Regions from separate parts of the Homo sapiens genome. Here region 2 is linked to region 1. Evidence: promoter capture Hi-C in human tissues and cell types (Jung and others, 2019). All regions are on one chromosome and are shown on one strand. Each heading gives the region's core, a stretch centred on a gene start or on the middle of the fragment in contact. The rest is flanking DNA. Distances are from core to core; before and after follow the strand shown.

Region 1 (5,368 bases), core at 290-2,789:
AAAAAATTCTCTGTTTAATAAGAAGTTTCACTTTAATATATAAACTCTTTGCAGGCTAAGCGTAGTGGCTCATGCCTGTAATCCCAACACTTTGGGCGGGCAAGGCAGGAGGATCCTTTGAGCCCAGGAGTTCAAGACCAGCCTGGGCAAGATAGTGAGACTCTGTCTCTACCAAAAAAAAAAAACAAAAAAATTAATGTGACGTGGTGGCACCCACCTGCAAGCCCAGCTACTTGGGAGGCTGAGGCAGGAGGATCAGTGTGCCTGGGAGATTGAGGTTGCAGTGAGCTGGGGTTGCACCACTGCACTCCAGCCTGGGAGATAAAGTGAGACTTTGTCAAAAAAAAAAAAAAAAGAAAGAAAGAAAGAGAAAAGAAAAGAAAAGAGGCCAGGTGGCCGGGTGCTGTGGCTCACACCTGTAATCCTAGCACTTTGGGAGGCCGAGGCGGGTGGATCACCTGAGGTCAGGAGTTTGAGACCAGCCTGGACAACATGGTGAAACCCCATCTCTACTAAAAATACAAAAATTAGCTGGGTGTGGTGACGGGCGCCTGTAATCCCAGCTACTAGGGAGGCTGAGGCAGAAGAATTGCTGGAACCCGGGAGGTGGAGGTTGCAGTGAGCCAAGATCGTGCCATTGCACTCCAGCCCGGGGCCAACAACAGCGAGGCTCCATCTCAAAAAAAAAAAGAAAGAAAGAAAGAAAGAAAAAAGACCAGGCGCGGTGGCTCACGCCTGTAATCTCAGCACTTTGAGAGGCCGAGGCAGGCGGATCACGAGGCCAGGAGTTCGAGATGAGCCTGGCCAATATGGTGAAACCAAACCCCGTCTCTACTAAAAACACAAAAATTAACTGGGCGTTAATTTTTGGAGGCTGAGGCAGGAGAATCGCTTGAACCCGGGAGGCGGAGGGTTGTAGTGAGCCGAGATCGCGCCACTGCACTCCATCCTGGGCGACAGAGGGAGACTCTGTCTCAAAAAAAAAAAAAAGAAAGAAAGAAAAGAGAAAAGAAAAGAAAAAGAAGAAGAAAAGAAAAAATTGTTTGTATCAGATTTTCAAAGTGCCAGGAAACCATCCCACTCTACCTCCTTTAAAAAAAAAAAGTGCAGAGTGATTATAACCACTGGCTCTGGAGCCAGGAGCCCCAACTAAAACCCAGGCTTCTCTATTTACTAGGCCTACTTCCTTCCGCCTCACTTTCTTCATGTGTAGAGTGGGGGTGACAGCCAGCCAGCCCTCTCTCCTAAGCTTTTGGAGAGAAATAAATGGATTCATAAGAAAGGACATATTTGTAAATAAAGCAAACGATCGCTGTTGGATTCAGGCCCTCTTGCTTCATTATGCTGAATGTCAGTGTATTACTTAAGTTGTTCCTTTCAGCAGAGTTGACTGTTTCTGCCCAGAAAACCGGCCCTGGGCCAGGAAAATCTGGGCTTCCACACTGGGATGAAAGGTCTGGACGCCCGGATTCGCATATGCAAAGCGTGGGGGCGTGGCCCCGGGCTCCGGGCCAGGCAGGCTCCGCCCCCTTCCCACCAAGAGCGCCTGGATCCATCCGACAGCCGCGGGTGCGTGGTCGTGCGGCAAGTGAGCGATTTGGTGAACAGACACTCCCTTCTGTAGGTAAGAATATCTCGGGGGGCGAATTAATTGAAGAAGCACCGTCATCCCTCGGTCTTAGCAGTGTCGCCTCTCTCTTCCCGGGTTTGGAGAGCTGGGGGCGGGTTCCTGGCTCTGCGGGCCTGGGCTACACTCTGAGCCGCGTGAGGAGCTCTCCCCCTACGCCGCAGCCCGCGTGCTGGGATTCACCCAAGTGGGTTTGTCTGGAATTCCCATTTGCAGCCTTCTGGAAGCGCAGATTAAATAAAATCATGATTCCCGTAAAGTGCCAGCACCTCCTATGGTTACATCCCACGTTCACAGATTTTAACTGAAAAGGCATTTTAGCATAGAATTCCAAATTCCAATCCAAGGATGGAGAAAAGGTCCTTCCTAGTGGGAAAAAGGAAGGTGAGTTTGAATTTAAGAGAGCAGGGGCTTTTTTGGGAACCACTTGAAATTTAGTTAATTGAAACTAAAAGAAAACGCAACTACACCTTACAAAAACACTGCTGGAAAGGATACCTAAGTCATCAAATAATAAATAGTGTGACAGCTGTTTACCAAATCAATGTCGCTGCCGCAAATGTGCAAAAGGTTGGGACTTTCGGAGTGCTTCAAGTTTGAAAAAGGTAAAGGAATAATGTTTTCTAAAAGTACTCTCAGGCCAGGCGCAGTGGCTCACGCCTGTAATCCCAGCACTTTGGGAGGCTGAGCGGGGCGGATTGCTTGAGGTCAGGAATTCGAGACCAGCTTGGCCCTGGGATGAAACCCCGTCTCTACTAAAAAGGCAAAAATTAGCCGGGCATGGTGGCGGGTGCCTGTAATCCCAGCTACACTGGAGGCTGAGGCTGAAGAATGGCTTGAACTTGGGAGGCGAAGGTTGCAGTGAGCCAAGATTGCACCACTGCACTCCAGCCTGGGCGACCCAGCAAGATTCTGCCTCAAAAAAAAAAAAAAAAAAAAAAAAAAAGCACTCTCATGTGTTTTGCTCCTATCAATATTGAAACATTGGTGTCTCCTGTGGCAAAAGGTGTTTTTTTCATCGAGGCACATATATTAAATAGACCAAAACATAACTTCCCAAATATCTTATAAGATTATCCTAGTAGTAGCTGAAATGGACAAAAATACCAATTTCCTTCAGTCATTATTGCTAATAGACCAACAACACTCTTTTAAGGTTGTGTAATGGTAAATGCATACACATTTATTTAACATGCACACAGGGAGAATCAGAGTGATTGATTACCCACCCTGCAACATGTCTCAGAAGCTTATAGACTACCCTGGCAAATGAGGTTACGGGAGGGAGCCGAAGAGCATCCAGCAGAAGTGGATGGGCTTCTGCTAGGGAGCATGAATGGGTCAGGGGAGAGAATAAGCTACATTATCTTGTGAATGGGTCTGTTCAGGTGTGGGGTATATTCTTGGTCTTACAGGGAAGGGAAAAGAAACAGTTGTTCCTTTTGGTGGGTCTGGATCTTAGGCAGACAAAGGTTTTTTTGAGCTGGGAGCCGGGAAGGTCAGAGAGACCTTGAGGTCTCCAGCATGTCAAAGCCCCATATTTTGGGGTATCGGCTTCTGAGTCCCGGCACTTATTAGTGACGAAACTGATGAGTCTGTAGTAGCCAGATCAAAGAAGAACCCAAAGAATGGGTACATTCGTAGATCAGGAATATTGAATAATGAAATATAGATCAGGAATATTGAAACTGGTTTTCCATGGGGGAAAGGAAGACTGTTGTCCTTCATGGGATAAACCTTATTTGCATGTCTATAGACAATAATTACTTAACATTGCCATCAGTTGTTAAAATTTACAGAGTTGTAAAATAGCTCAAATGACCTCTAATTTTTCTTTAATCCAGTTTTTTCCCTACAACACCACCTTCTCTCAGTGCATTTAATCAGAAACTTTCACTGCATCTCAAGGATTAGATGTCAGCTGACTTTCCTTTTTTGTTTTGTTTTGTTTGGGGTTTTTGAAATTTTTTTTTTTTTTTTTTTTTTTTGAGACGGAGTCTCGCTCTTGTTGCCCAGGCTGGAGTGCAGTGGCTGGGATCTCGGCTCACCGCAGCCTTGACTTTCCCTGTTCAAGCAATCTTCCCACTTCAGTCTCCCAACTACCTGGCACTATAGGCACACACCACCATGCCTAGCTAATTTTTGTATTTTTTATAGAGGTGAGGTCTCGCTATTTTGCCCAGGCTGGGCTCAGTTGACTTTCTAAGCCGTTTTATGTTTTTCTTAGTTTTATGGTTTTCTTAGGCATATTCCTCCTGCTCTCCCTAAGACTAGATTGATCTGAACATAGACATAACAGAATAAACAGAATTTGGAAGGAAATGATTAATTTACCAGCAAACACCTCATGCAAATTAAAAGGAATGGTACCATATATGATAAAATAAAATCTGAAGCATCTTAAAGATCACTTGGGCTGGGTGCGGTGGCTCACACCTGTAATCCCAGCACTTTGGGAGGCCAAGGCAGGCGGATTTCTTGAGGCCAGGAGTTCAAGAGTAGCCTGGCCAACATGGCAAAGCCCCATCTTTACTAAAAATAAAATTTTAAAAATATCACTTGTTTCTGCTCTTACAAAAACAAACAACAGAACTATTCTGGCCCACATACTGAATATCTGGGTCTAGTTTACGTCTTTGGAAGTTGTGTGGCATGCTTTATTTCAGCAAAGATTTTTTTTTGGGGGGGGTGTGGGGTTTGACATAAAGGATTATAGATGGGTGATAAGGCTACTTTGTAGTTTTTTGAGAGTCTAGGTCACTTAGCACAAAATTCTATAGAAGCTAAATTAGGTGACTTTAGTAAGAATAGTCAGGGCAAGGCCAGGCACGGCGGCTCACACCTGTAATCCCAGCACTTTGAGTGGCTGAGGCGGGTGGAGCACTTGAGGTCAGGAGTTCAAAACCAGCCTGACCAACAAGGCAAAACCCTGTCTCTACTAAAAATACAAAAATTAGCCAGGCCTGGTGGCGGGTGCCTGTGGTCTCAGCTACTCAGGAGACTGAGGTGGGAGAATCGCTTGAACCCAGGAGGCAGTGGTTGCGGTGAGTGGGGAGATTGTGCCACTACACTCCAGACTCCAGCCTGGGTGACAGAGGGAGACTCTGTCTCAAAAAAAAAAAAAAAAAAAAAAAGAATAGTCAGGGAAAGGTGTTATTCATGTATTTATCTCTCTAATCACTTGTATTTCAGAAAGATCTGGATCTGGGTGTCTGCTTTTTTTTTTTTTTTTTTTTGGATGGGATTTCAAATGTCATCGGCTGCAGAAGAGGGTGGGCCCCAGTACATAAAGCCACCAGAAGTGGATGGGCTTCTGCGTATAAAGCTATTGCTCTTGGCAGCTCTGTCTGAAGGAGGAGGACAAGAGACTCCAGGGTATGGAAAGGGATTTTCATAGTGGCGGGCAGCAGGAAGGAGCAGAAGTTGGACCTGAAGGCAGGAAGCCAGCTTGGTTCTAGAAAGAAAGAAACTGGGGGCACAGAAAAAAACAGGTAACTCAAGGGATCCTCCTGCCTCAGCTTCTGAGATTCAGATTCTATCTGTATTAACTGAAAAATGTTATATGTGGCCAGACTTACAAGGTTTATTGCCCTGTCCTAGCTTTGCGTTACGGGCACTGTTTTCATCAGAAATGTTCTGGGACAGACTCAGTTTCAAAGATCCTGTTCAGTTTTCCTATTATACGGAGGCCTTGCCCTGATGTGGACTTTAAATTTAAAATAGTCATTGCACCCCTAGAAA
Region 2 (5,775 bases), core at 1,101-3,600, 89 kb after region 1:
ATGGAGAATATAAGACTTACTGCATGAGTTCTTACACAGGTTAAGTGCTGGCCTCTAAACCACACTATTCCTGGCCTTTAGTGTTGTCAATAAACAAACATCTCTCTCTCTTTTCCTAATTGAAAAAAATAACATCTATTTACATTAATCAACATGGTTAGGAGGCACTTACCTTTTCTAAAGACTTTTACATTAATCAGCTCCAGATATTTCCCTTACTTTTCGACAAATCCATTATATCCTAAGTTGAAATGAATGAATTCCTATAACTGAATTAGGTAAAATAGGACTAGAAATAAAAACGAGCCATTAATCCTTCTATTCTCCTTTCTGCCACTATTTTGTGTAACCTAATTTAAAATTTCAGTGTCTTCTTTGTTGGCAGATCAACACCTTTTGCTCTTTCTTCAAAAGGCAGGGGGTCACACAGGCATGAAAAGCTGAAAACAAATCTAAAATTTGGCAGAAAAATTCAAGCTTTACCTTTTGTATCCCCTGATACTTCAATGTTTCCGAATCCTTTTACCTTCTTGACCAAGAGGAATAGATTTAAGTCACTCCTTTAAAATCTTTGTATTGCTACCGTATCTTCTCTGCTAGTCTCTGCTGACATCCTCAATGCTGGAACAACTTTCAATTCGGTTCTTCCATGGAAAGCTATTTTAAAGTTTAATTGCTAAAGAAGAGACCAGTTTACCCAGGTACAGAGCAGGATGAGCAAAAACATACAGCTCAAAGGCATAACAGAAGACAAACCCTATTCCTATATACAAAGAAAAAAAGGTGTTATTATGAATGGCTGGTCTTGAAAACTGTGCTTCTTAAAAATTGATTTTTGGTAGGAATCTAATTAAATATGCTTTCATTAAGTTTTTAAGAGCCAGTAATATGGAAGTGCATTGATTAGTAACTCCCAAATCTCAATCATAAATGTCCATTCATCATTGACTCTGTCTGCACTCATGATATTCCACTAATAGGATGCCAAATGCCATTTTTAAAAATTGGAATCTAAAAAGTAGAAAATACAAACTGAATCAGGATTTTTCTCTGACACAGAGATTCAGCAAAGAGTAGGATGCATCGAGACTTCCAGAAGCGATTCCTTCATTTTCCCAGCATCTCTCAAACTGCTGTCACAACATAAGCTATTTATGGAGTTTCAAAGGTCTTAATGGATTTATGAAGATCTTAAAAAGGGGCTTCAAGACACATCTTTGAAGATGACTGAAAGATTAGGGGAAGAGGCCCATGAGGAAAGCTAAAAGAAGCATTTTTATCTCAACTAGAAAAAGCTGAAGAGTAATTTAGTAATAATCACCAAGCCGGTTATGGAGAGAGTGGTAGATATAATTGTCTTTACTGAAGGCACAAGACTGTACTGTGGTTGACTAATGATATAAAATGATTTTCTGGCAGAATCTTGTTTCCAAAAATAGATGAAATTCACAAGTTTGAATATAAGAGGGATTTGGAGGGGGTGGGTAAATAACCATACAACATCTCAAATAAGGTTAATTTTTTAAAATAAGCCTTTAATTAGGTAAATGAAGTAATAACACCCCACAAGTTTTGCACCAGAACACCCACCTCTTGGTTACCTGTTACCAGACCTCTTCATCCCTCTCATCGCCCCCCACTTCCCCACTTTCACCCCCCAATTTGCAGCGATAACTTTTGGAATGAGAAACAGACTGAGTAAGTGCCCATTTCTTCTTGATCAAGGGAGTTGACAGTAAGACTCCTCCGTCATTCACTAATTTCTTTGCCTTCACCCTCCTCCTCCCTGGATGGTCTTGAGGCTTAAGACATGAAAAGCAACTCTTATCACCAAGTTTGGGGAGTACACACAAAAAAGAAAAGGGAAAGTCCAGTGGCGCCAAGTGCCCCTTTGATATCACAGAAACCGCAGCTGCTGTGCTCCTCTGCCTTCATTTTCCTCACTGGGAAATAACGCAGTGACCCTGCCCAGTGCTCACAGCCAGCAGCCGTTGCACTCAGCCACTCTGGGACCAGCTGATGGCCTCTGATTGCACCCTCCATTAGATTAACCAGCTAGGATAACTGGTACTTTAATCTACCTTTAATTAAATAAAAGTTAGAATCATGAAAATGGAATTTTAGTTGTAACCCCAAAGGGATTAGTAAGGAGAGGGGCACTCTGCGTAGAAAGATTACCTCCCGAAACGTCAAACACAGTGATGATATTATTTTAAGTGCATGAAATGGGGATTCGTCTGGATTTGGAATAGGCTCACATACATCAAAATGGATATTTTTCAGTGTGTGTGGAGTATGTGCTATTTGACATTCCAGATAGCCCAGATGAGTGTTCTCACTTCATATTCATGGACTCAAATGCAGGTTGTGTGTGGTCCATCAGGCTTAGGTTCCACTATTTCATAAACTATTTTTTGGTGTCTTAACTCAAAGGACAGCTGAAGTCAAAGGCCAGATTTTCTTTCTTTTCTTTTCTTTTCTTTTTTGAAACAGTCTTGCTTTGTCGCCTAGGCTGGAGTGCAATCTCGGCTCACTGCCACCTCCACCTCCCGAGTAGCTGGGATTACAGGCACATGCAACCACACCCGGCTAATTTTTGTATTTTTAGTAGAGGCAGGGTTTCGCCATGTTGGCCAGGCTGGTCTCGAACTCCTGACCTCAGGTGATACACCCACCTCGGCCTCCCAAAGTGCTCCAATTATAGGCATGAGCCATCGTACGTGGCCCACATTTTCATTATCAAACAAAATAAACTCCTTAAAAGGATTTTGAGTGAGTTTGGGTCCTGATCATTTAGACGTTGCCTTGTTTTCTTACTTTTCTATCCTAATGGAGATGGTCTCCATGCAATTACCTTAGGAGGAATGGGATTGAGGGGTTGAGCTTAAAGGAGAAAGGGGTGCCATGGCTGGAATACGACACCAAATCTCGTGCTGAGGCTTGGTCCCTAATGTGGCAGTGTTGAGAATTGGTGTCTTTAAGAGGTGATTAGGTCATTCAAGAGGGATCGATGCCTTTCTCCTGAAAGTAAGCTCTTGCCTGCTTGGGAATGGATTAGTTACCACTCGAGTGAATTGTTATAAGCAAGGCTGCCTCTCATGTTTGGTCTCTAAACATGCGCTTCCCCTTCCTTCTCCACCATGTTATGACAGCACAAAGCAAAGCCCTCGCCAAAAGCCAGCCAGATGCTGCCACCTGATCTTGGACCTCCCAGCTTCCAGAACTGTGAGCTAAATAAGCTTCTTTTTTAAACAAATGTTTTAGTCTCAGGTATTCTCAGTCAACAGAAAATGGACTAAGATGGGGACTTTAGGGTTGTTTGAAATTTAAACAAATTTCAGTAAATGTTTTTAAATTTTTTTATTAAGAAAAGCTTATTTATTAAAGGCAACAGACTTTTTAAAAAATATTAAAGTAAGAAAGGCTTACTTTCATTAGGCAACAACAGACTGGATATCAGAAAAATCTTTACACCACAAAACCCTTGGATTTCGTGGATATAAATTTAATTAAAAAAAAATAAACGGCTAAACTGGTAAGAAAGTAAGAAAAATCCTCAGATGCCAAAGCAAGAACAGGAAGCCAGATAGCTAAGGAAGCATTGACTCTGCGGTGTGCTCAAGGCATCTGCTGGTTCCCCCAGAACCTAGAGTTTTGGTTTTAGTGACAACCCCAAAGGGCCACATCCTCAGTGAATGGTGAATCAGAACAAAATACAAAATGACAGGGGGAAAATCCCTAATGAAGAAGACTAATCTGGGTGGAGTCTGGAGAATATACCCTCAGCATTTGCCTTTATAAACCAGCACTTACGTAATTCTGGAGTCCTATTCCTATAGGCTAAACTTTTTTTTTCAAGCTGAAAATTTAGTTTAAAGTGGTCCTGATTGGCAGTGTCTCCAGGCACCTATATGTAACAAAGGCAAATGGTTTCTGAAAGAATGTACCTCAATACAGGAATCAAAATATTGCCACAAATAAAATTCCATCGAATAGGAGATTATGATTTTTAAAAATTCAGAATCAAACAAGGATATAAAGTTTCATGAACAAGCCAACTGAAGTAATAAATAGCGAAATCAGACTAACAAAGATTTGACGTAGAAGAATTATCAGTATTAGAATATAAAATAAAATGTTTAATATGTTTACACATGGAGGAAAATAACATCATAAGAATAGAACAAGGTACATAAATAGAACATCATAAGAATAGAACAAAATAATCATGAATTTGGGGAAAAAATAGAACTACAGTCATGGGAAGCATAACTATGTTTCGGTTAATGATGGACCATGTGTATCAGCAGTCCCCACCCTTTTTGACACCAGGGACTGGTTTTGTGGAAGACAATTTTTCCACAAACCAGGGCAGGGGGATGGTTTCAGGATGGTTTCAAGTGCATTATATTTTTGTACATTTTATTTCTATTATTATTGCATTGTAATATATAATGAAGTAATTATACAACTCACCATAATGTAGAATCGGTGGGAGCCCTGAGTTTGTTTTCCTGGGAGACAGTGACAGATCATAAGGCATTAGATTCTCATAAGGAGTGCACAACCTAGATCCCTCGCATGCACAGTTCACAATAGGGTTCCCGCTCCTATGAGAATTTCATGCCATCACTAATCTGACAGGAAGCAGAGCTCAGGCAGTAATGTGAGCAATGGGGAGTGGCTGTAAATACAGATGAAGCTTCTCTTGCACACCTGCCACTCACCTCCTGGTGGTGGCTTGGTTCCTAACAGGCCATGGACCCTGGTACAGGCCCTTGGACTGGAGGTTGAGAACCCCTGGCATATAGGACAGTGGTCCCATAAGATTGTAGTGGAACTGAAAAATCCCTACCACCCAGTGACATCATAGCCATCGTGATGTTGTATCACAAAGCATTACTCATGAGTTTGTGGTGATGCCGGTGTAAACAAACCTACTGCACTGCCAGTCTTATAAAAGTCTAGCACATGCAATTACGTACAGTATATAATACTTGATAATTATAATAAATGGCCAGGTGCGGTGGCTCACGCCTGTAAACCCAACACTTTGGGAGGCCGAGGCGGGCAGATCACCGGAGGTCAGGAGTTTGAGACCAGCATGGCCAATGTGGTGAAACCCTGTCACTACTAAAAAAAAATAATACAAAACTTAGCCGGCCATGGTGGCAGGTGCCTGTAATCCCAGCTACTCAGAGGCTGAGGCAGGAGAATCACTTGAACCTGGGAGGTGGAGGTTGCAGTGAGTCGAGATCGCACCACTGCACTCCAGCCTGGGTGATGGATCAAGACCCTGAAAGAGCAACTTCCAGCCCTGAAGCTCCACTCATGTAAGTGCCCTATATGGGTGTACCATGTTTTATCTCTTATGTGTATTTTTACTGTATCTTTTCTATGTGTAAATACGTTTAGATACACAAATGCTTACCATTGTGTTACAATTGTCTACAGCATTCAGTACAGTAACATGCTGTACAAGTTTACAGCCTAGGAACAATAGGCTATGCCATTTAGCCTAAGTATGTAGTATGCTATGCCATCTAGGTTTGTATAAGTATACCATATGATGTTTGCACAATGACAAAATCACCTGGCAATGCATTTCTCAAGAAATATCCCTGTTATTAAGGATGCATTACTGTAGTCAAGAATAGAAGCTTAATAAACAAGTTAAGAGCTATGTAGAAGTTAAGAGCAATAAAGAAGAAAATATTAAACTGTAAGAACTCATTTAGAATATAGCACAGAGATGAAAGTGGAAAAAATTAACAC

Evidence for each region. The method cuts DNA at HindIII sites, captures the fragments that hold promoters and counts their contacts. A contact is called where the count stands out against the background at its distance.
Region 2: a contact is called between a fragment that was not itself captured here and the fragment with the promoter of SLC19A3 in region 1, in 5 of the 25 tissues and cell types used here (H1 embryonic stem cells, heart left ventricle, mesendoderm cells and 2 more).

Annotation. Positions count from the first base shown.
Region 1 is chr2:227,714,199-227,719,566 of GRCh38, reverse strand. SLC19A3 (solute carrier family 19 member 3) reads left to right here and starts at 1,539. Exons shown (of 6, transcript NM_025243.4): 1 at 1,539-1,624. RefSeq lists an enhancer at 1,122-2,008. The HindIII fragment of the contact is 9,813 bases long and covers 1-5,368 here.
Region 2 is chr2:227,625,889-227,631,663 of GRCh38, reverse strand. It overlaps the pseudogene SLC19A4P. Among named protein-coding and RNA genes, the nearest start is that of SCYGR4, 11 kb to the right of the region's middle. The HindIII fragment of the contact is 5,663 bases long and covers 1-5,181 here.